Regions from separate parts of the Homo sapiens genome. Here region 2 is linked to region 1. The links are contacts of gene promoters, found by promoter capture Hi-C in human tissues and cell types (Jung and others, 2019). All regions are on one chromosome and are shown on one strand. Each heading gives the region's core, a stretch centred on a gene start or on the middle of the fragment in contact. The rest is flanking DNA. Distances are from core to core; before and after follow the strand shown.

Evidence for each region. The method cuts DNA at HindIII sites, captures the fragments that hold promoters and counts their contacts. A contact is called where the count stands out against the background at its distance.
Region 2: a contact is called between a fragment that was not itself captured here and the fragment with the promoter of ZIM3 in region 1, in 1 of the 25 tissues and cell types used here (psoas muscle).

The regions. Positions count from the first base shown.
Region 1 is chr19:57,143,165-57,146,451 of GRCh38, forward strand. ZIM3 (zinc finger imprinted 3) reads right to left here and starts at 2,038. Exons shown (of 5, transcript NM_052882.1): 1 at 1,695-2,038. The HindIII fragment of the contact is 26,155 bases long and covers 489-3,287 here.
Region 2 is chr19:57,183,245-57,186,531 of GRCh38, forward strand. No RefSeq gene overlaps it. Among named protein-coding and RNA genes, the nearest start is that of ZNF264, 6.6 kb to the right of the region's middle. The HindIII fragment of the contact is 3,949 bases long and covers 1-3,287 here.

The sequences.
Region 1 (3,287 bases), core at 788-3,287:
AAAATACAAAAACAAAATTAGCCAGGCGTGGTGGCGGGCGCCTGTAGTCCCAGCTACTCGGGAGGCTGAGGCAGGAGAATGGCGGGAACCCGGGAGGCGGAGCTTGCAGTGAGCCGAGATCGCGCCACCGCACTCCAGCCTGGGCGACAGAGCGAGACTCCGTCCCAAAAAAAAAAAAAAAGAGAGAGAGAGAAAGCTAAACAGCAGTTCAACAGCACCTTTAAAACAAGCCTGTGCAAAGACAATGAGGCAAGCATCAGATCAGCTAGAGCACAGTAAGGAAGGCCGAGAGCAGAAACCATGAATCCTGAAGCAGCTGTGGTCGTGACGAATAACGCCGCAGTGAACATGGGATGCAGATAGCCCTTCAGCTTTGCCATAAGCGGGACAGCTGGATCATTGGTAATTCTTTGCCAAAAGCGTAGATTTTGGCCACGCGTGGCAGCTCACACCTATAATCCCAGCACTTTGGAAAGCCAAGGTGGGAGGATCAGTTGAGCCCAGGAGTTACTTTTTTTTTTTTTTTTTTAAGACCAAGTCTTGCTCTGTCGCCCAGGCTGGAGTGCAGTGGCACAGTCTCGGCTCACTGCAACCTCTGCCTCCCGGGTTCAAGGGATTCCCCTGCCTCAGCCTCCCGTGTAGCTGGGATTACAGGCATGCACCACCATGCCCAGCTAATTTTTGCATTTTTAGTAGAGACAAGGTTTTACCATGTTGTTCAGGCTGGTCTCGAGCTGCTGATCTCAAGTGATCCGCCGGCCTCAGCCTCCCAAAGTGCTGGGATTATAGGCGTGAACCACCACATCCAGCCAAGCCCAGGAGTTTGAGACCAGCCTGTGCAACATAGTGAAACCTCTGTCTCAATGTTTAAGTAATAAAGTTTTTATTTTTTATTTTATTTTATTGAGGCAGGGTCTCATTCTGTCACCCAGGCTGGAGTGCAGTGATGTGATCCCGGCTCACAGCAGTTTAAAAATCCCTGGCTCAAGCAATCCTCCTACCTTGGCCTCCTGAATAGTTAAGACTATGGGTGCATGCTACCACATCAGCTAACTTTTTATTTTTTGTAAAGAAGGGATCTTGCTATGTCACCTAAACTGGTCTCAAACTCCTAGGCTCAAGCAATCCTCCTCCCTCAGCCTCCCCAAATCCTGGGATTACATGCATGAGCCACCACACCAGCCAGGAATAAAGTTTTAAATAAGTAAATATGTTTTTAAAAAGAATAAACTTGCCGGGCACAACTTTAATGTTTATTAAAGTTTGAGGAGTCCAATTCTAGCACAAAAAATATATATAATTTTAAAAAACAGTAAATTGTAAATGCTTTCACCACAAAAATAGATTAATTAGCTTGATTTAATCATCCCCCCAATGTAAACATGTATCAAAACATCACATTGTACCCCATAAATAAACACAATTATTATTTGTCAATAAAAAGTTTTTAGAAGTAGCTGTGGGCCAGCAGTAATGCTAAGGACTGGAGGGCCACGAAAATAATTTTGAGTGTCCTGGGAGCATCACTTTTCAATATGACAACTAAAAAAAAAATCTAAACTACCAATGTAAAATATTTAGCTTATTCCAGCAAATAGGAGAGGTAGAAAAATGAAACTAAGTAAAAATGCAAAACAAACAAACAAACAAAACCCAGACATTTGGTTTTCAGGGAGAAAAAAAAATCAGCTTACCTCCAGTGGAATCTGGCATAAATTAGCAAGTTGATTGATTTCTGATGCCTGTGGTCTTTTCTTCTGAAAGGGACTGAAAATGAAAAGGCGTGTATACTGAAAAGCTACACTAATGACTAAAACTTAATCGGCCCTCTACCCGCTGTATTCCGCATCATAATCCAGTCAAGAAACAACCCAAAACACTCACTTCCTATCAAAAGCCCCACCTGATCCTATCAGGCCACATCAAAATTTCAATTCCCAATTCTTTCCTCGACTTCTCCAAAACTGAATGAACTCTCATAAAAATTGTGATTGTGAAAGCTTAATTTTCAAATCTGCCCAATCAGTTTCCAATGGAATTTTTTTTAAGTTCATGCAAGTAAAAATTTTTTACCTTAACTTTGAAATAGAAAGCATGGAAAACATTATCCAAATGTCAGAGGATGAAAATAAATTAAAACAACAAAAATTGGCTGGGCACGGTGGCTCATGCCTGTAATCCCAGCACTTTGGGAGGACAGGAGTTCAAGACCAGCCTGGCCAACATGGGGAAACCCCGTCTCTACTAAAAATACAAAAATTAGCTGGTCATGGTGGCACGTGCCTGTAATCCCAGCTACTTGGGAGGCTGAGGCAGGAGAATCGCTTGAACCCGGGAGACGGAGGCTTCAGTGAGCCAAGATCGTGCCACTGCACTCCAGCCTGGGCAATGAGCGAGACTCCATCTCACGTCTCAAAAAAAAAAAAAGAAAGGAAAAGAAAAAAGAAATAGGGCCAGCGGAGGTGGAACAATGCCTTAAAGTGCTCTCCGCCCGACAGAAAGAATTCAGGCTCCAACCTCCAACTGGCAAAATCTCTTCAGCTGTACTAATACTCTCAAAATGAGATCAACATGCCAATCCATCCCCACCCTAGTCTGGGTGTTGAATTTAAACACAGGCTACATGCCCTTGCCTGCAGACATGGAGACCTTCCAAAATTGAGCGTCCAACTGAATTCCAAGAGATTAAACCAGACTTCATGGGACAGGATGCACCAGACTAGACCTCCTCCCAGGAGAAGAGGTATCCAAAGATCGTATTAGCAAATGACCCTTGGCGGTGTGCGGTGGCTCAAGCCTGTAATCCCAACACTTTGGGAGACTGAGGCAGACAGATCACCTGAGGTCAGGAGTTCAAGACCAGCCTGGTCAACATGGTGAAATCCTGTCTCTACTAAAAATACAAAAATTAGCTGGGCATGGTGGTACACACCTGTAGTCCCAGCTACTCAGCTACTCAAGAGGCTGAGGCAGAATTGCTTGAACCCAAAACACAGAGGTTGCTGTGAGCTGAGATCATGCCACTGCACTCCAGCCTGGGCGACAGAGGGAGACTCCATCTCAAAAAAAAAAAAAAGAAAAAAAAAGCAAAATGACCCAGCCAGCCTGAATCCCAGCCGCCGTGTCGGACTACTATAGTCCCAGATACTTGGAAGGCTGAGGTGGGAGGATCAATTGAGCCCAAGAGGTCAAGGCTGCAGTGAGCAAGGATCTTGCCACTGCATTCCAGCCTGAGAGACAGAGCAAGCCTGCAGGTGAACGGAAAGGGGTGGAGTGATTTTATATAT
Region 2 (3,287 bases), core at 555-3,054, 40 kb after region 1:
CGTGAGCCACCATGCCCAGCCGAAAAACATCGTTTCTTAGTTGAGTTATAATTAATATTGAGAGCATTAAATTTATGTAGAAAAATCATTTTTCCTTAAATCCTCAAAGATAACAAACAAGCATAAAAATCATTTATAGATTTAGTATTTTTCTGTTAAAATCATTTACTCTTCTTTGTTTTTGGGTCAGTGTTCAATTGGTTTATACCTTTGATAGTTGAAATTTACTTACTGAATACTGATATCATTTGTGGGTCCTGGTAAATATTTCAAAGTTGTCGTACAAACAGGACAATAGATTCTCTCAACTCTTCAAACGTCTAACATGACAGACTTATAAGTCTTTTTTCTTCTTTTTTTTTTTTTTTTTTTTTTTTTTGTAGAGATGGGGTCTCGCTATGTTGCCAAGGATGATCTTGAGCTGCTGGGCTCAAGGGATCCTCTCACCTTGACCTTGGCCTCCCAAAGTGCTGGGATTATAGGCATGAGCCACCACGCCTAGCCTCTTGCAAAGTCTTATAATGTCGTTTTTAAACTCTTAAGCTGCCAAGTGTGGGTGGCTCATGCCTGTAATCCCAACATTTTGGGAGGCTGAGGTGGGAGGATCACCTGAGCCCAGGAGTTCAAGACCAGACTGGGCAACATGGCAAGAACCTGTCTTTACAAAAAATTAAAAAATAAATTAGCTGGGCATGGTGGTACACACCCACAGTCACATCTACTTGGGAGGGTGAGGTAGGAGGATTGCTTCGGCCTAAAATGTTGGCTGGGCATGGTGGCTCACGCCTGTAATCCCAGCACTTTGGGAGGCCAAGGTGGGTGAGTCATGAGATCAGGAGTTCGAGACCAGCCTGGCCAACATGGTGAAACCCCGTGTCTACTAAAAATACAAAAAAATTAGCCAGGCATGGTGGCAGGTGCCTGTAATCCTAGCTACTCGGGAGGGTGGGGCAGGAGAATTGCTTGAACCGGGAGGCAGAGGTTGCAGTGAGCCAAGATCACGCCACTGCACTCCAGCCTGGGCGACAGAGAGAGACTCCATCTCAAAAAAAAAAAAAAAAAAAAAAAAAAAAGTCAAGGCTGCAGAAAACTATGGTCACTCCACTGCAACTACATCCTGGGCAGCAGAGTGACCTTTAATAAAATAAAAACACCCTTGAGCTACTCTCGTAAACCCAGTAAGACTTACACATTTAATAAATCAGATTGTCTTAAGCCTTTTGACATCCTAAATATAAGCTTATGCAAAGCAGCAACACACATGTAAAATATAAAAGTAACAAAGATAACTTCAATACAATTTTTTTTATTTTAAAAATTTTTTAAGAGTTGGGGGCTTGCTCTGTTGCCTGGGCTGGAGTGCAGTGGCAGGTTCATTGCTCACTGCAGCCTGAAATTCCTGGGTTCAAGTGATCTTCCCATCTCAGCTTCCCAAGTTTTGAGGATTACAGGTGTGAGCCACCATGCTCAGCTCTTAACAACTTTTTTTTTTTTTTTTTTGAGACAACGTCTCCCTCTGTCACCCAGGCTGGAATACAGTGGCACCATCACAGCTCACAGCAGCCTCAACCTCCTAAGCTCAAGCGATCCTCCAGCCTCAGCCTCCTGAGTTACTGGGACGACAGTTGTGCACCACCATACCCAGCTACTTTTTAATTTTTTTGTAGAGATGGTGTCTCACTATGTTACCCAGGCTGATCTCAAACTCCTGGCCTCAAGCAATCTTTCTGCCTTGGCTTCCCAGAGAGAGTTTTTCAGTCCATCATTTTTCAGGATTGTGAGCCAGGGTTCCATTAGATCTTATTGAGATATCTCTTGTGTGTCTGCTGTGTGCCAGACATGGTTTAAAAGACTAGAGATACAGGCCAGGGATGGTGGATCACACGTGCAATCCCAGCACTTAGAGAGGCCGAGATGGGCAGATTGCTTGAGCCCAGAAATTTGAGACCAGCCTGGGCAATATGGCAAAAGCCCATCTACAAAAATAAAAATAAAAATTAGCCGAGCATGGTGGCATAGCTGCATGTAGTCCCAGCTACTTGGGAGGCTAAGGTGGTAGGATCGATTGAGCCTGGGAGATCAAGTCTGCAGTGAACTGAGGTCGCACCACTGCACTCCAGCCTGGGTGACAGAGCAAGACCCTGTCTCAATTAAAAAAACAAACAAACAAAAAAAAAACTTAGGATCCAGCAGTGAACAAAATCATCACTGACGCTTACCCTCATGGAGCTAACATTCTGGATGAAAAGTCAGAAATAAACAATAATTATAATACAGAAATAGACATGATAAGTTAACCAGTGCTATAACAAAAAGAAGGAAAAGGAGAGTAAGGTGGATCAGGGTGTCAGAGTTTGGGGAGTTGTTTGCAATTTTCATTAGAATGATCAGGAAACAGCTTATTTAGAATGTGACATAGATCAAAGTCTATAGGGAGATGAGGGGCTGAGCCATGTGGAGATTGGGGTAGGAAGTGGATTTCCTGCCACAGGCTTTCAAGCAAGCATATAATATCCAGGGCTGGGTGCTGTGGCTCACGCCTGTAATCCCAGCACTTTGGGAAGCCAACGTGAGAAGATTGCTTGAGGCCAGGAATTCAAGACCAGCTTGGGCAACATATTAAGACCCCCATCTCTATTTTTTTTAATCTTTTTTTTTTTTCTTTTGAAACGGAGTCTCGCTCTGTCGCCAGGCTGGAGTGCAGTGGCCCGATCCCAGCTTACTTCAATCTCTGCCTCCTGGGTTCAAGCGATTCTCCTGCCTCAGCCTCCTGACTAGCTGGGATTACAGGTGTGTGCCACCACGCCTGGCTAATTTTGTATTTTTAGTAGAGACTTCCCCATGTTTGCCAGGATGGTCTCGAACTTCTCACCTCGAGTGATCCACCCACCTCAGCCTCCCAAAGTACTGGGATTACAGGTGTGAGCCACCACACCTGGCCAAAATAAGCCTTTTTTACTGTATTTATTTGAAGATTAAAGATGGTTTAAGGTGACAAGGGGTAGAGTATGATTGCCAACTATATGTGTAAACTTGTTTAGGCTGTACTACCCAGAAATTGTATTAAACACTGACCAGGGTATTGTTATGAAGGTATTTCATAGAAACGGTTAACATCTATAATCAGTTATTTTGATAATGTAGGTGGTTCTTATCTAATCAGTTGAAAGGCCTTAAGAGAAAAACAGGGTTCCCTGGGGAAGAAATTCTGCCTCAAGACTGCACCTTCAGCTCCTATCCACGTTTCAATTCTGCTGGCCTGAACTCTAGCCTACAGATTTGGGACT